Regions from separate parts of the Homo sapiens genome. Here regions 1, 2, 3, 5 and 6 are each linked to region 4. The links are contacts of gene promoters, found by promoter capture Hi-C in human tissues and cell types (Jung and others, 2019). All regions are on one chromosome and are shown on one strand. The core of a region is centred on a gene start or on the middle of the fragment in contact, and the rest is flanking DNA. Distances in the headings are between cores, read along the strand shown.

Region 1 (2,916 bases), core at 39-2,538, 490 kb after region 4:
GAGTTTTGACATAAGTATCAGATACTTATATCAGATAAAATAGACTTTAAATCAACAACGGTGGAAAAAAACAAAGAAGGTCATTATATGATGATAAAGGGTTCAATTCAGCAAAACCATTTAACTACCCTAAATGTATATGCACCCAATATCGGAGCAGCCAGATTCATAAAACAAATACTATTAGACCTAAGAAAATAGATAGATAGCAACACAATAATAGTAAGGGACTTCAACACCCCATCAACAGTATGAGACAGATCATAAAGGCAGAAATTCAACAAAGAAACTCTGGGAGTTTCTTCCAGTAGGAGATAGCTTAAAAAGTAAAAATTTAGAAAAAAGAAACAGGGTATAAACTGGACTCTGGAGCAAATAGGCCTCATAGACATTTACTGAACACTCTACCCAACAAATGTAGAATATGCATTTTTCTTATTCACACATGAAACATTCTCCAAATAAACCATGTGCTTGGCCATAAAGCAAGTCTCAATACATTCAAAAAAATTAAAATTATATCAAATATCTTCTCAGACCACAGTGAAATAAAATTAAAAATCAACACCAAGGGGAAATCTCAAAATTATGTAAATACATGGAAACTAAATAACTTGCTCCTGAACAATCTTTGAGTAAATAATAAAATTAAGAGAGAAATCAATAAATTTTTTGAACTGGATAAAAATAGGGACACAACATATCAAAACATTTGGGATACAACAAAAGTAGTGCTCAGAGGAAAGCTTATAGTGTTAAATGCCTACAAAAAGATAGAAAGATCACAAATTAACAACCTAATATCCCACTTCATAGAGCTAGAAAAACAAGAACAAACCAAACTCAAAGCTAGCAGAAAAAAATAAATAACAAAGATCAGAGCAGAACTAAATGAGATTGAGACCAAATAGATATAAAAGATCAATGAAACAAAAATATTTTTCTTCAAAAGGATAAGCTAAATTGATAGATTGCTACCTAGGAGTCACCAAGAAAAAAAGAGAAATGATCCAAAAAACACAATCAGAAATGATAAAGGTGATACTAGAATATAATCACAGAAATAATAAAGATCATCAGAGAGTACTATGAGCACCTCTGTGCACAAACTAGAAAACCTAGAGGAAATGGATAAATTCCTGGAAACATGCAACTCCCAAAATTGATCCAGGAATAAATAGAAATTGTGAACAAACCAATAATAAGTCATAAAATTAAATCAGTAATTTAAAATACACTCCCAAAAAAGTCCAAGACCAGACAAATTCACAGCTGAATTTTACCAGGTGTACAAACTAATATCAATCTTACAGAAACTATTTCAAAAAATGAAGGAGGAGGGATTCTTTCCCATCTCGTTCTATAAAACTGGTATCACCCTGACACCAAAATCAAGCAAGGACACACAAAAAAGAAAATTACAGGCCAATATTCCTGATGAACACACACAAAAGTCCTCAACAAAATACTAGCAAACTACAACCCTTCATGCTAAAAACTCTCAATAAATTAGGTATTAATGGGACGTATCTCAAAATAATAAGAGCTATCTATGACAAACCCACAGCCAACATCATACTGAATGGGAAAAAACTGGAAGCATTCCCTTTGAAAACTGGCAACAAGACAGGGATGCTCTCTCTCACCACTCCTATTCAACATAGCGTTGGAAGTTCTGGCCAGGGCAATTAGGCAGGAGAAGGAAATAAAGGGTATTCAATTAGGAAAAGAGGAAGTCAAATTGTCCCTGTTTGCAGATGACATGATTGTATATTTAGAAAACCGCATTGTCTCAGCCCAAAATCTCCTTAAGCTGATAAACAACTTCAGCAAAGTCTCAGGATACAAAATCAATGTGCAAAAATCACAAGCATTCCTATACACCAATAACAGACAGAGAGCCAAATCATGAGTGAACTCCCATTCACAATTGCTTCAAAGAGAATAAAATACCTAGGAATCCAACTTACAAGGGACGTGAAGGACCTCTTCAAGGAGAACTACAAACCACTGCTCAATGAAATAAAAGAGGATACAAACAAATGGAAGAACATTCCATGCTCATGGGTAGGAAGAATCAATATCGTGAAAACGGCCATACTGCCCAAGGTAATTTATAGATTCAATGCCATCCCCATCAAGCTACCGATGATTTTCTTCACAGAATTGGAGAAAACTACTTTAAAATTCATATGGAACTAAAAAAGAGCCCGCATCGCCAAGTCAATCTTAAGCCAAAAGAACAAAGCTGGAGGCATCATGCTACCTGACTTCAAACTATACTACAAGGCTACAGTAACCAAAACAGCATGGTACTGGTACCAAAACAGAGATATAGATCAATGGAACAGAACAGAGCCCTCAGAAATAACGCCGCATATCTACAACTATCTGATCTTTGACAAACCTGAGGAAAACAAGCAATGGGGAAAGGATTTCCTATTTAATAAATGGTGCTGGGAAAACTGGCTAGCCATGTGTAGAAAGCTGAAACTGGATCCCTTCCTTACACCTTATACAAAAATTAATTCAAGATGGATTAAAGACTTAAACGTTAGACCTAAAACCATAAAAACCCTAGAAGAAAACCTAGGCATTACCATTCAGGACATAGGTATGGGCAAGGACTTCATGTCTAAAACACCAAAAGCAATGGCAACAAAAGCCAAAATTGACAAATGGGATCTAATTAAACTCAAGAGCTTCTGCACAGCAAAAGAAACTACCATCAGAGAGAACAGGCAACCTACAACATGGGAGAAAATTTTCACAACCTACTCATCTGACAAAGGGCTAATATCCAGAATCTACAGTGAACTCAAACAAATTTACAAGAAAAAAACAAACAACCCCACCAAAAAGTGGGCGAAGGACATGAACAGACACTTCTCAAAAGAAGACATTTATGCAGCCAAA
Region 2 (2,847 bases), core at 3-2,502, 330 kb after region 4:
TTGTTGATAGATGGCACACTATGGATGAATCTAAAAAAATATACCAAGTGAAGAAGCTAGACAAAAACTACATAGCGTATGATTCCATCTAGAAAGGCTAAACTAACTCATAGTGACAGAAAAGGAGGCCTGGTGTGGGTGTCAGGAAGATGGGTTGGCAAAGGCCTCAGATCAACTACTGCCCACAGTCAGAGGTGAAAGAGTTGACTGTAAGGTGAAACAGGAAGACTTTCAGGGGTGATCTAAATGTTATATATCTAGATTGTGGTGGTGACATGGGTACATAAATTTGTCAAAACTTATTGAATTGCATACTTAAAATGAATGCATCTGATTGTATTACATCATTGTATGTAAATGATCCTGGACCCCTATCTCACACCAAACACAAAAATTAATTTGAAATAGATCATAGATCTAGATGTAAATTCAACCTATCAAACTTCTGGGAAAAAAAATAAACCAAGAGAATAATCTTTATGAGTTTTGTCAGCAGATTTTTTGGGGACATAAAAATCACTAAAAAGAGGGGGGGATCAATTAATTTAAGTCTCCCCAAAAAATCTTTCTCTTCTTAAATCAGTAGTTATAATCCTAGCAGCACATTTAAGTCATCTGGAGCATGTACAAATAAAAGCACAATACCCATCCCAGACTAACTGAATCACAATATCTTCTTGAGAAACATTGACTTAAAGTTTGGACTCCATTGATTTTCAAAGCAACAAATGTGCCTCACAGAGAGGTTATGTAGCCTTACATCTCTAACATATGAAATATTTTTTGTTTGCATATGAATACATAAATGGAGAAAGTAAGTTATATACACGTATTAATTTATTCAATTTGATTATTATGTATCAGGGACTATGTTGGATGCTTAGTTACAAAAAGACTGAGACACAATCCTTGGCCACAATTATAGGAAGAGTCAGAGTTCTAGGTGGGATAAAAGTTGTGCAAATATATGACGTGCATACACAAAGAGATAGATTTCATCTTGTGTGGGTGTCAGGAAGAGGAGTTGGCAAAGGCCTTAGAGAAGAAGAAGGGATTTCCATTAAGCCAAGTCTCAAAAGATGATTATGATGTGATCTGGTTGTCCTGGACAACTTGACTAACCACACCTCCGCAACCCCGCAGGCAACACACACACATTTTTGTGCACATACCGGCAACATATATATTTTTCAAAATCCTAAGTATCCATGCCTGCCTTATAGTTAACGTTTCGAAGATTCTTTCTCTACCCATTGTCCTGGATTAATATCAAAAGAGAACGAAGAAAGAAGCTTAAGGGAGAAAATCCACTGCATCTTCAGATTGTTTCCTTCTTTCTGATCTCAGGAGGTCCAGGGAGGTAGGAAGAACCTTTTCACCTGTTTCCTCATATTGTTCCTCTATTGTCCTCTCCAGCTGGTAAGCCCCAACATCGTGTATCTTAAAAAGCTAATGAGGCCAGGACAGAATTGCCATTTAAATTCTTTAGTAACATTTCCTCTTACAGTCTGAGCTCTTATCCTCTGACTTGTTTCCTTAAGTTTCTATCAAGCTCCTCAGTCAGGTTAGTTGGAATATTCCCATGCTTCTTCCTTTTTCTGTTAGAGAATAAGGTCTATTATATAACTCCTTCATCTCCTTAGAAATACAGATAGCCTATCAGCAGTTTTGGAAAAACATCCCAACTGATTTTAGGGCATTGAGGCGTTTGATGGGAGGAAGCTATCTATACAAAGAGTGAATGCTGTACAAACAGCAAACTTTACAGGGAAAAAGTTGATATTTATAGATACTCATTTATACCCCAGGGCAAGACAGACAGATAGATAGATAGATAGATAGATAGATAGATAGATAGATAGATAGCAATATATTGATATCTGTTTATCCATTGAGTCAAACAAATAAACACACATAGATTACAAAGGTCCTTTTCTCTTCCCATGCCTGAAGAGAAAGGAGGCCTGTGGTTTCTTTCCATAGATATGCATCACTCCTGAAAAGCACACTCACATCTTGTTTATATATTACAGCCTTCCGCTACTTCACCAAATGTCTCCTGGCCTTTGCTCAGTGAGCCAGTTGAGCTCCCAGAAAAATCCTTCATTCTTTCCCAACTGTGCCTCCCAAGACAGATGTTTTATATCAAGGACACCAAGTCCTGCCCTGAGGACTTAGCCAGCAAAAACTCACTAGAGGCCCTTGCCTTCAGGAGATGATGTAACCTTGGAGAGATGTGTGCTACAATCTCCCTGCAAAGGCGGAAGACAGCGTGAACTCACAGGGGACCCAGGCCAGGGTATTGGGTGGGCCATCCCTCTCTGTTGTGATGAGTGGCTATAGTGTGTAAGTCAGCCTGGGAAAATGTCTGCTCAGTCCCAGGAGTGGATTCCACAGCTCTTTGGTTGACAGTTCAGTTCCCACCATCTTCTGCTTGCAAGTCTTCTTAGGGCAATGCTGCAGGGTAGGTCCTTGTCCTGTTTTATTCAAGAGCACTCCTGGTATGGCCCCACCATCTGTGCAGAGAGCAAGGCTTCACATGTCTCCAGGGTCTTATGGTAAGTTGGATATGACAAGTGAGAACCCAGCAGTCTGGGGACAGTGCTCAGAGCAGTGTAAAGGGCAGTCACACAGCCAAGTACTTTCCAAGGCAGGGCAGGCCTTGCCAGTCCTCACTCAGAGATGTTCACACCAGCCTTGTGTACAGCATGCTTAGCTCTTTGATTTCTGAGCCCTCAGCTATCACAAGTAGTCAATTCTCAGGAGAGGCTGAGTTGGGAGATGGACCTAATGACATTGCCTAGCACACAGTAGGCACTCAAAGCATATTAGATGAATGACAGAATG
Region 3 (2,830 bases), core at 4-2,503, 360 kb after region 4:
TTGAAGCATCACACTGAGAGGAAGGGGGAGAACCAGGATAGGGTCTTCCCAACAGGGTCACCTACCACAAGATACCAAGGAAGATGAAAAATGGGCGGAGGAAATTGGATTTGGCAAGTAAGGTATGACTCCTGATCTTTAAGATAACACAGTAATAAGCATGACTAAGGAAAACCACCCCACAGATCTGGACCACACTGAGAGATGAGGTAAGATGAACTTCTGCCTGTAATCTCAGCTCCTAAGGAGGCTGAGGCAGGAGGATAGCTTGAGGCCAGGAGTTCGAAACCAGCTTAGGCAATATAGCAAGAGTCCTATCCAAAAAAAAAAAAAAATAGACGAACCTCCCAGGGCCTCTAGTTCTCAGGTGTAGTGCTCTAGGTAATATGCAAGCTTGAGAAGCCCAGGTGAAATGCTACCAAACTGAAGCTCCTTAGAGGAGCCAAACCACCTGTTCACTATCTGGACTGATTTTATACCGTTAGAGTTCACCAGACCGAGGAGGAGTTAGACCATGTCTATCTCACAATCCATGTCTTAGCTCTAAGGGAAAAGAAGAGAGCCCACAGTGATGGTGCCTGATTTAGGAAAAGTTTCAGTGTGTCTTCCTTAGGGTCCCTTTGTCCAAGCTTTTCTTCAGAAGCAGGGAAAACAGAAAAATATTTAGGAACAAATGGAGATGCCAGAGAGGAAGAAGTGGGGATTAAGGAAGAATAAGGGTAGAGGCGGGAAGGCCGTGAATGCCTGGATGACCTTCCCCCCACCAGAGGTGAAGGGGTGGTGCCGTTGTAAGGTACAAAGGTCCCCTGGAGGGAACCAGTGCTTTCCTCCCTAAATTGTTCATACCCAATAATAAACACATACCAGATAGCACACACATGGAATGCTGGGGGCTGTTGGAAGCAGACCCAGGCTGTCGGGAATCCCCTGAACCAAGGCATGAAAAACATTCTCTTCCTTCGCACGTGTAACACTCTCCCAGTATAACTGTTTCTCTTAAAGCCATAGGTGTCTGTTTTTGAGTTTGCTCCTTGGAGACAGAAACAGGATTACAATATATGGTGTTTTTTCCTCATTTCCTGCTATAGGCTGTTTTAAGTTTCTGTGACAGCTTTTCTACATATTTCTTCCTTCAAATGGTGAATCTATGTATGGCCATGTTAATGACTGGGACATAGACTTAAAATGGGAATGCTTAGGAAATGGAATGTTCTTTAACCAGTATTGTTTCATCTGCTATTATTGGGGAAAAAGAAATCTCTCTACAGATTTCAAACCCACTTTGCTGGTGCAATGGAATGATCAAATAGACTCTCTCTTTGAAGATCTGGCATCTTGTCCAGCCTCAGAGTCATTATTTAGATTATCATTTGGGTCATCGGTGACCTCAGTGCTGTGGACCCTGGGAGAAGGACTGAGGATTAGAGCCAGAAGACGTGGGTTTCAGGATTGGCTCTACTTAGTAGCTGGGAGATTCTAGGCAAATTGCTTTTTAAAAAAAATTCAAAATTCTCTAAATCTGTTTCCTCCTCTGAAGAGTGAGAATAAGACGCAAACCTACCTACTTCTCAGGATTATGTGAAGATTACAAAAATCCTCTGTGAAAGCATTTCCATCAACCTCAAACTCTCCACAACTCTAAGAGCTGGAGGCACCTGAAACCAGGCTGAATCTGTACAAATGGGACAGGTGGGTTCTAAAAGTTCATTTATAAAAGAAACCTCCCAAGTGAGTCTAACTTGTTCTTTATCTCTTTGTCCTGTAAGGGGCCACTGGAAAAAAATGAGTCAAAGTTTTCCATTCAAGTGAATTTTCAGATAGTTGTCTGCATCCTCACAGAACAGACAAAGAAATCAAGACTTTACAAGTTGTTTATTTGTTTTAAAGTGACTTTTCCCAAATCTTGCAGCTAGCAACTGTCAGTGTCGGGATTCGCATCTGAACTTAAGACCTGCAGGGAGAGGCTGCTGGAATTTCTGCTTTTCATAAAGCCCTGAAGAGCGTGAACAAAAAGACAATGGGGGAACATGAGTCAAGCCCTGTAGCAGGACCTAGACTCTGAGGTGAGGGCCACCCCTGAAGCTCCAGGCTTCAGGGGCAGCACTCAGGAGAGGCACTTCTTCTGATGGGAGAAAACTGAATGGGACATTTGCAGTAAGGGGTGCTGGTGGGTACTACATGTGGGGCCACACTCGAGCTGCCTTCTCAGTCAACCCCTTTGGCAGCTTGGGCCAAGTCTCTCTGAAGAGGAAGACTGTGATATCTGAACTCGTGAGTTCACAGAGTGCTCACCTGGAGACTTTGTGAGAAACAGACTGGGAAGATCTCTGTAAAAGAATCAGGCCAGGCACGGTGGCTCACGCCTGTAATCTCAGCATTTTGGGACGCCGAGGTGGGCGGATCACGTGAGGTCAGGAGTTCGAGACTAGTCTGGCCAATATGGCGAAATCCCATTTCTACTAAAAAATACAAAAATTAGCCAGGCATGGCTGCTCATGCCTGTAATCCCAGCCACTCGGGAGGCTAAGGAAGGAGAACCACTTGAACCCTGGAGACAGAGGTTGCAGTGAGCCGAGATCTTGCCACTGCACTCCAGCCTGGGCGACAGAGCGAGACTCCATCTTAAAAAATAAAAATTAAAAAAAGAATCGATTGCTGGTAGGAGAGGGTTCCTTCTTGCACTCAGCACAGTGGCTGACCAAGACAAGTAATCCAGACCATGTTGGTGACCAGGTGAGCACTGGGGATGCCGGGAGGGGTGACATCACGAGGACAGTCTATGGGAAGACACTGCCTGAGCACGCTGGTCCCCCATTGACATGTGGCCTTC
Region 4 (2,974 bases), core at 460-2,959:
TGGACCTTCTCGGTAGCAATTTAAAATTCAGAAGTGTTTAGAAGCAATTTACAACGAAGAATGAAAAACGAAGAATTCTCGCCAACTTCCTGAATTCCTTGCCCCCTCCCCCGCACTGCCAGGCCCTGTCCCGCTCCCCCAGGAGCCACAAGTTCACAACTCACAGTTACGTGCAGAGGAAACAACGCTTAGCTACGAGGTCTCACCATCTCTGGAAACCATACTTTACAAGGCACCTCTCCACCCCAGTTCAACTCTGCACAGGCTCCTCTTCCTTCCCTAACTGGGAAAACACGAAAATAGAAACAAAACAAAAAACCAGAGCCTAAACGCTTTCTAGGAGACCGACCTTCAGAAAATCATTTACTTGGATTTACCTGGGCGGGGGGTAGGGGGTGGGGTCGGGGTAAAGTATAAAAATTCATTCTCACAAAAACAACGCCTCTTGTCCTAAAGTCTCCCTCGGCAGCCTTCTGGGGTCACGTCTGTCGGAAGAAATCCTTTCTGTAAGCGAAAGGGAGCGAGACATATATCACGGCTCCTGCAGCGGACGAGCCTGCGGCCGCGCGAGTTGCCGCTGACAGATCGGCGCTGATAACCCCGCGACGTTCATTTCCAGTCCCTTTTGCCCGCTAGGGACCGTATCAGTTTGTACAGAGTTGTGATAACTGTTTGGAGGGAGCGAAGAGGGGGTGTGTATATGAACGTGGGGGTGGGGAAGCAGCATTTAGCGCTGGGTCCAGGGAAGGTGACACCCCCTCTTCGCAGTGACTTATCTGTGACTTACCTGAAACTCTCCAGGGAAATATCAGAAACTCTCCAGGGACATCAAAAGTTGGAGAGCGTCCTCGGACACGACTGATGTGGAAGCCCTTTTCCATTCTGCGTACCCCATAGACTACCTTTCCGTACATGACGACCCGAGTTAAAGTTCCCAAAGGTCAGCTGGGGAATGTTGTCTTGAGGTTCCCGAAACCACCACGACCTGAGCCGTAGCATCCCGAGATAGGGTCGGAGAAAGTTTAAGGTCGGTCTCACACAACTTCAGGGCAAAAAGCGCATTTGCTGTGAAGGGGCTAGGCGGGGGTTGGGGGGCGGGGGGGCGCAGAGCACGTTCCCCCTTCCTTCTGGGGGCGTGCTGACCCAAGGTCTGGAGCGCCCCTCCCGCCGCGGCGGCGGCGCGGGACTGTGCACTGCCAACTCCTCCCGTGCCAAGGCTCCCTCCCCCTCCCTCGTGTGGGTGTGTGTGTGCGACTGCGGGAGCGGGAGGGTGCACCGCCGCTGGATGGGTGCGGGTCGCTAGCCAGGTCAGGCGTTCTGTGGCCTCCGCCCCTCCCCCGGGGTCCCTGGGCTCGGTGCCCCCCGGGTGGACTCGCCCCCACTCCGGGGACAGGGCTTGCGGCTCAGCCCACGCCCGCAGGCAGCGCGGCTCTCATTGTCTGCCTGGGCGGCGCGCTCCCCTCCCCCCTCGCCGTCCCCTCCCCACCCTCTTTTCTCTCCTCCCCTCGATCCCTCCTCCTCCTCTTCACCTCCAGCGCCCAGCTGCTCGCTGAGCGCAGTTCCGACCCACAGCCTGGCACCCTTCGGCGAGCGCTGTTTGTTTAGGGCTCGGTGAGTCCAATCAGGAGCCCAGGCTGCAGTTTTCCGGCAGAGCAGTAAGAGGCGCCTCCTCTCTCCTTTTTATTCACCAGCAGCGCGGCGCAGACCCCGGACTCGCGCTCGCCCGCTGGCGCCCTCGGCTTCTCTCCGCGCCTGGGAGCACCCTCCGCCGCGGCCGTTCTCCATGCGCAGCGCCCGCCCGAGGTTCGGCTGCTTCCTCCTCGCGCGATCTCCCCGCTTTCCTCCCCTCCACCCCTACTCGTCGCGGGCCCCTGGCCTCCGGCTCTCCGGCCCTCTCCAGGCCGCGGTCGGCTCCGACGGTGTTTCCCTCCTTCCCTCCGGGCGGGCTGAGGCGGCTCCCAGGCTCCCGGGACACCGCGGACCAACTTCTAGTCTCTTTTTCTCTCCTCGAAGCGCTTATCTGCGCGCAGCCTTATCTCCGAGTTATCTCGGCGCAAAGGGGCGGGAGCCGGTAGTTAGGCAGGCAGAGAAACTTCTTTCTTGCTATCTAGCCAGGTCTGTGTGTGGGCATTAATTTTAGTGTGGTAATCTCCGATGAGCCGAGGCGATTTGGAAGAGCAGCCTGGAGGAGGCCAGCCCGGCTGCATTTCACCTCCCTCCCCCACTCGCTCCGAGTCTCCCTGTCATTCTTCCTGCTCTCCCATTTGGGGTCGCCTCGGCTCTGGGGCGGTCTCACGCTCCCCCCTCCCCAGCCCGTTGCGTTCCCCCTCCTTTTCTCTGCTCTCCGCTCCACCCCGCTACGTCCGATTCCGGAACGGTCCGGCGTTTCTGCTGCTGGAGATGACCGCGGGGTGGGCCGGGTGGCCCGGCCGGCGTGAGCGCGCACGCTGGTGGCTGCAGGCGCGGGCCGTGTCTAAGGTGTGCGGCGCCGCGGGGACGCCGGTGGGGCTGGCGATTCCCGCCCCACAAGCTCTCCGCATTGCCTCTGCTGGGAAGGACCCAGACTGCTGCCCCCGCCCTGGCGTCCCACTTTCCCTGGGCCGAGTTGCATTTCTCTCTGGGGCTCGCGTTCGGGCTGGTCAGCGCAGTCCGGGAAGCTCTGGGAGAGCCAATATAGGAGAACGCGGCGGTTTCGTTTTCGGGGACAGGTTGCCTTCCTTACGCGAAGGGTTTTCCCGTGGGGAACCCTCACCCCGAGGCATTTCGGGAGAGGGGCATCCGCAGAGAGGCGGGATGCGGCGGTGCCGACACGCACAGCTACTTAAATTCTTTTGTGTGTCATCAGCCCGGGGGAGACACTTTAGGGCGGAAGGAAAGCCTCAGCCAGCTTCTGCAGATCACCCCTGGGATCTGGCGCGCGCACGGAGAAAGGATGCGGCCGAGGGGGTGGGCGGGGAGGACGCGGGGACCGGAG
Region 5 (2,948 bases), core at 263-2,762, 510 kb after region 4:
TACACAAGTGAAGGCATCTTCCAGCTTGGTCTTAGGATCTCCTTTAAATTTAATGGGCCCTCATCCCCTACAGTCTTTGCTGTTCACTGGAAATACACAACACTTCTCAGCAGGAAGACTTGTGTTGTGTGAATCCTTATTTTCTCCTTAATATATTTCCATTTATCATCATAGTACTTTAAAATCCTGTTACTTTTCATTAATTACCCAAAACAGAAGAAACTCATGATTGTTTAATCTCTGTTCACAAACTCTCTATGCCCTGAGTGGATTTATTAGAAAATGCTTTAGGAAATCCAGACTTAATCCTAGTTGCTGATGGATCACATCTTAATAGTGATACTGCAAAATAGAAGGTAAGAATATCACCCCTTACCAAAAGCAAAATCTGTCCAGATTGAAGAACTTACTGCATGTGCCAGAGCCTATCAGTTAACTAGAAATGAAAGGATAATTTCCACTGATAATAGAGATATACATTTTGGAAGGTAGTCATATTTGGTGATGTTTTGTAAACAAGGGTTCTTGACCCCAACAGGAACTCCAGTTCAGATTGGTCAGCAGAATTAAAGAATTTTTGCATGTTCTAATGTTTCTTAAGGAGATATAAAGACAGGAGCTCAAACAAATGGGTATACTACAGCTCTTTGTTCCAGACAGTCAGCACTCACTTAGATCCTAGCCCTAATGATAATCCAATAGATTCTATTGCTAGAGAAATTCAAAGAGGCTTTTATAGAATGTCAGTGATCGGCTCCAGGTTCAGAAAAGTCGTACTAGGAGAAATCCAGATGTAAACTGCACGAGGATAATCTCCGAGGCTTTAAGGATGGCTGTTTAGTCCCGAAGAACTTCAAATGGAATCTTGCAAAAATTTTACATGAAAATACCCACCACTGCAAAGACAAATTAGCAAGGACAAACTGGCCACTAAACTTCTTGGTGAGAAAACTTCACTAAAACTTCTGAGGGTATTTCTGGTGCATATATTACCTGCCACTAGACTGATTCTGACAAAACTGTTCAGGTCAGACATGGACAAGAGCCCAGTGCTTAGAATCCCTTTGAATAGCTCCAAAAGGGTTTCATATATCTGCTCTTGCAGTGGATTTGTAATGTGTCCTACTTATTATTTGCTTATTCTTGGGATGAGTTGAGCCCTTTCCTTGCTGGAGAAACATGGCTCTAATAATTGCAAATTTAAAAACTTACTTGATATTGTATTACCAACTTAGGGAATTCCAAACTATTGCTCTAGTAACAAGACCATTCATCTTCCTTGGTATATTGGACAGACTCCAATTTGGCCACCCAGGATCCACATTTGTTGGTCTTTATGCCTCTGTGTGATCCTTGACTGCAGTCAGGACCTGTGACTTGCTTCTAACTAACACAGTATGCCAAAGGTGATGGGCTATTGCTCCCGTGCTTATGTTAGTTTTATAAATTACTTGTCTTGCTAGAAGACACTCTGAAGACTCTTTCCTGGCTTCATGAAGCACTCATTTCAGGAAAGCCCCTGAGGTAAGGAACTGAGGCTGCATCTAGGATCTGCAGGCAACTAATAGCAGCCAAGGGTGGCCTCCAGCCAACAGCTAGCAAGAAGCTGGAGCCTTCAGTCTTACAACCACAAGGAAATGAATTCTTCCAATAAATGGTGTGAGCTAAGAAACAGGTTCTCCCTTAATAGAGCCCTTACATGAGAATGCAACTGGGACAACACCTTCATTTCAGCCTTAAGAAACCCTGAGCATAGGACAACGCAAGCCATGCTTAGGCTACTGACCCATGGAAACAGCAAGAATAAATGCAGGTGCTTTTAAGTCACTAGGTTTCTGGTGACTTGTGCAGCAAGAAAACTTATACACTGTGACTATTATTTAAAAGCTTTGCAGAGTATTCTCACTTACTCAGAAACTCTACTATCAATATCAGCCCCAATCATCAAGAAAGGAAGAAAGGGCAGATCGAATTTTAAAACACAAATTAGCAAATTTTTCATAGATTCTCAATCTTTCATCACCTAAGATATTGCCATTGGCTTTAATGACAGTGAGATCAATTCCTCCTGGGGGTTATCAACTCTCCCCTTATGAATCAGTAACTGGTCAGCCCATGCATCTAGGATTATCATCTCTGATTCTAGATTCCATGCTATCACAAACCGACAAGCCAAATATCCCAGGGAACTCATGCAGTACCCCCAGTATTATGATTAATAGGTATGAGCAGCCTTTCCTCAACATCATCCTAAATAGCACTTCTATGACCTGAAGCCTGGAGCTTTTGTAAATGAACTTTCAAATAAATAGAACTTGGAAGAGAACTAGGAAAGAGATGCAATATTCTTGGAGGCTGAACCACTTTCACTGATGACGCAGGTAAGACACGCTACTTCACTTTTGCTTTAGAGCTACCAACTCTCTCAGTATTCCAAATTTCATTGCCTGGCACTGTATCATTCTTGATGAGTAGTGCTAAAATGCTACAATGCAATTTTTCAATCCTATGGTGCTGTTTAGGCCAAAGATAGTTCATAAGTGATTCCCAATGACTGGTATAGAATTTTCAGCATAAAAGCCTCAGACTGCTACCTACGAATTGGACAGGGTTTTGGTACCTTGGTAAATAGATGCATGTTTTGAAGATAGTGAGATTACCTAGGATCCATTTTTGCCCATCAATTTACCCTCTAGGAATGGTCGTTAGGTCACAGATTTTAGGAAGAAAACTCAGCCATGATTTCAGAACCAAAGCCCTAACTCTTAAGGGGGAATTTTGAATTTTCTTCTTTCCTCATGCTCCTTCACTTTATATTTTTCTGAAAGGCTCAAAAAACAGGGAGAATCCTGGATGCCATGGTTCAGAGAATGCAAAAGAGTTATACAATGCCACCATGGCCATGGGACTCCTTGCCTAGAAGGATCATAAAATTGGACAGATGGTAA
Region 6 (3,229 bases), core at 195-2,694, 270 kb before region 4:
TTTACTCAAGCTGAATTCATCCAGCGCTTGCACTCCATCCTCATGCTACCATGTGGTGGGAAACAAAGGGACAGAGAGCTCCAATTCATTCTTTTTTTTTTTCCCTTAGGGTTGGGGTCTTGCTTTTTTGCCCAGGAGGGCATGCAGTGGCATGATTATGGCTCACTGCAGCCTCAAACTCCTGGGCTCAAGCGATTCTCCTGCCACCACCTCCTTTCAAAGTGCTGGGATTACAGGTGTGAACCACCGTGCCCAGCCCTAATTCATTCTTTACTTTTAGTTTAGAGTAGTGTTTCATTTAAAAATTGCTGTACATAAAATATAATCACAAATGATTTCTCAAAATTCTGTATCTTGCAATTATTGTAACTGGATAAGGGTTTAGAACAAGAGAAGACATGTCTAAGTCTAATAATAATATAGTGAATATTTACGAAGTGTTATGAAGCGGCACTTTCTAAGTGTCTTATAAATGATAGAAACTGTGGGTCATGCTTTACGTGGCATTTGAACTCTGGCATTCTGGTCCCAGAGTTCCTGGCCCCTAAGCATCATAACATACTGCCTGTCTACCAGAGAAACAAAAATCAGTGTTTTCCATGGTCCTGGCAAGGATGATTATCAGTTCTATAAGCTAATATGGACATTCAGGAGGTGGATCAAGGTTTTGTGAGGCCCAGAGCGTATATAATTTGGGTGTCATCTTTAGGAAGATAACAGAAAATGACAAATACAAATGTATATGTGAAAATAAATTTTTATTTAGAATGAGAAAATAAATCACAACTGATCACAATTAGAAAAAAGACTACAAATGTCTCCAAATCCAGAAAAAATGCACATTTTTATTACTGAGCCCCCTAACGTATCTAATGCTTCTTTCCCCCATATCTTTAGCTTTATACTCTTTGATTGTCTTTCAATGTGTCTGCAATTTTCTACAATCATTTTTAGTAGAGAAAATAGAAATGTAATTCAGCTGTTCCTATTAGCGTGGTTGCTTGGTAATTATTATTGATGGTTGGGATGCATAACACATAGGATTTCACACATGACTATAACTTGCTGTTTGTAGTGCTTCTGCAGTTTTATCCCATACCTATAGAGAAATTCTGAAAATTGTATTTTGTGTGATCCCCTCCAAAAAGAAAAAAAGCAAAGTTTGTTCATAATTGTATGTGCTGTATTATCAGGTATATTCGTTTTTTTTTTTTTTTTTTTTTTTTTTTTTGAGATGGAGTCTTGCTCTGTCACCCAGGCCGGAGTGCAGTGGCACGATCTCAGCTCACTGCAAGCTCCGCTTCCTGGGTTCACGCCATTCTCCTGCCTCAGCCTCCAGAATAGCTGGGACTACAGGCACCTGCCACCACGCCCGGCTAATTTTTTGTATTTTTAGTAGAGATGGGGTTTCACCATGTTAGCCAGGATGGTCTTGATCTCCTGACCTCATGATCTGCCCGCCTTGTCCTCCCAAAGTGCTGGGATTACAGGCGTGAGCCACCGCACCCGGCTAACATATTCTTCACAGGAGACAAATTCCATTTTGATTAGTTTTTTTCTTTTAATTTATTTTTTAAATAGAGATGAGGTCTCACTAAACTGCCCAGTGTGGTCTTAAACTCCTGGGCTCAAGCCATCCACCTGCCTCGGCCTCCCAAAGTGCTGGGATTACAGGTATGAGTCACCATACTCCGCCATTGACTAGTAGTTGTTAATGGAACCTTTGGCTTACCATTTTCCATGTCTGACAGTTGGAAGAATTTTTCACAGACCACCTTCTGGCTTGATTCATTTCAAACCTTTTTCCTCCACAATCTATGTACTTCTCATGCCAGATGCCATAGGACACAGTGTATAGGGATAGCCCTGGTTCTTCCCGTCATAACACTAGGCAGGGAGTGAGATGAGGGTGCTCCTAAGATAGCTTAGTAATAAGTAATAAGTGAAGAATTCACAGAAGTAATTGTAAGCCACATAAATGTATCCAACAAAACCCCAAATAAATGTACCCTCAATGCATTCTCATCTGCCTCAATGTACCTTCAGATATGCCCATGGCTGGTCCATCCCACCTGGCACAGGGAAAGAGTGGAGAAAGGAAAGTGAGAGTAGAAACAGAAAATAGTCATAACTGATAGCAGTTAAATATATTATTTTTGGCTGGGTGTGGTGGCTCACACCTGTATTCCCAGCACTTTGGGAATACAGCCGAGTCAGGAGGATCCCTTGAGCCCAGGAGTTTGAGACCAGCCTGGGCAATACAGTGAGACCCCATCTCTCTCTCTATATATAAAATAATTAGCCAGGCATTGTGGTGTGTGCCTATAGTTCCAGCTACTTGGGAGGATGAGGCAGGAGGACTGCTCAAGCCCAGGAGGTTGAGGCTGCAGTGAGCTGAGATTGTGCCACTGCACTCCAGTGTGGTTGACAGAGTAAGACCCTGTCTCAAAAAAGAAAAGAAAAAGAAAAAACAATGTAATCATGCAAATGTGAAAACACTGCTGGACCCTTCCCAAGCCTTGGAGGGCCTGTGCAAATGAGGGTCCTGCAGCCTAAGCTGCATTAACTTTAGGGCCAGTCCCTGTATGGAACATCCTTAGAGACCTAACTCACCCACCAGCCTGAGGCAGCTCCAGGGGAGTGCCAGCAGACAGCAGAGCAATGATCTCACACCCATGGCAAACAAGGACGCGTTGTCCACCCACTAATAGGACCTCACCACCTGCAGGCGGGCAGATCCCAAGGTTTCCTGATATTCCCTACTGCTGCAGTCTCTGCTTGGGACAAAGTGCATTGCTTTTGCCATGAGTCACTGTGCCAGTAAAAAAGGTTAGGGGACATTCATGTCACAAAAGCAAGCGCTCAACTGGGACCTGAGAAGAGACAGCCTTCTTGGGTCACAACTGTCCACTTTCTCCAGGTGATATGGTTTGGCTCTGTCCCCACCCAAATCTCATGTTGAATTGTAATTCCAGTGTTGGGGGAGGGACCTGGTGGAAGGTGATTGGATCATGGGGGTGGGTTTCTCCCTTGCTGTTCTCGGGGTATGAGTGAGTTCTCACGAGATCTGGTTGCTTAAAAGTGTGTGGCACTTCCTTTTTCGTGCACTCTCTCCCATGCTCTGCCATGATAAGACGTGCTTGCTTCCCGTTCACCTTCCGCCATGATTGTAAGTTTCCTGAGGCCTTCCAGCCATGCTTCCTGTGCAGCCTGTGGAACTGTGAGTCAA

The links. Contacts are between HindIII fragments. The study calls those that stand out against the background at their distance.
Region 1: a fragment that was not itself captured here is called in contact with the fragment with the promoter of GATA6 in region 4 in 3 of the 25 tissues and cell types used here (H1 embryonic stem cells, heart left ventricle and lymphoblastoid cells).
Region 2: a contact is called between a fragment that was not itself captured here and the fragment with the promoter of GATA6 in region 4, in 3 of the 25 tissues and cell types used here (IMR-90 fibroblasts, aorta and small bowel).
Region 3: a contact is called between a fragment that was not itself captured here and the fragment with the promoter of GATA6 in region 4, in 2 of the 25 tissues and cell types used here (aorta and mesenchymal stem cells).
Region 5: a fragment that was not itself captured here is called in contact with the fragment with the promoter of GATA6 in region 4 in 1 of the 25 tissues and cell types used here (lymphoblastoid cells).
Region 6: a fragment that was not itself captured here is called in contact with the fragment with the promoter of GATA6 in region 4 in 1 of the 25 tissues and cell types used here (heart left ventricle).

What each region holds. Positions count from the first base shown.
Region 1 is chr18:22,658,801-22,661,716 of GRCh38, forward strand. No RefSeq gene overlaps it. Among named protein-coding and RNA genes, the nearest start is that of CTAGE1, 240 kb to the left of the region's middle. The HindIII fragment of the contact is 8,147 bases long and covers 1-2,916 here.
Region 2 is chr18:22,501,834-22,504,680 of GRCh38, forward strand. No RefSeq gene overlaps it. Among named protein-coding and RNA genes, the nearest start is that of CTAGE1, 85 kb to the left of the region's middle. The HindIII fragment of the contact is 8,094 bases long and covers 1-2,847 here.
Region 3 is chr18:22,524,105-22,526,934 of GRCh38, forward strand. No RefSeq gene overlaps it. Among named protein-coding and RNA genes, the nearest start is that of CTAGE1, 110 kb to the left of the region's middle. The HindIII fragment of the contact is 5,421 bases long and covers 1-2,830 here.
Region 4 is chr18:22,167,880-22,170,853 of GRCh38, forward strand. It overlaps GATA6 (GATA binding protein 6), which reads left to right and starts at 1,710. Exons shown (of 7, transcript NM_005257.6): 1 at 1,710-1,803. It overlaps GATA6-AS1 (GATA6 antisense RNA 1 (head to head)), which reads right to left and starts at 1,089. Exons shown (of 2, transcript NR_102763.1): 1 at 788-1,089; 2 at 1-504. The HindIII fragment of the contact is 12,336 bases long and covers 1-2,974 here.
Region 5 is chr18:22,677,051-22,679,998 of GRCh38, forward strand. No RefSeq gene overlaps it. Among named protein-coding and RNA genes, the nearest start is that of RBBP8, 250 kb to the right of the region's middle. The HindIII fragment of the contact is 3,901 bases long and covers 1-2,948 here.
Region 6 is chr18:21,898,057-21,901,285 of GRCh38, forward strand. All of the region lies in intron 1 of LOC105372016 (a long non-coding RNA gene), which reads left to right. Among named protein-coding and RNA genes, the nearest start is that of MIR133A1HG, 68 kb to the left of the region's middle. The HindIII fragment of the contact is 4,850 bases long and covers 1-3,229 here.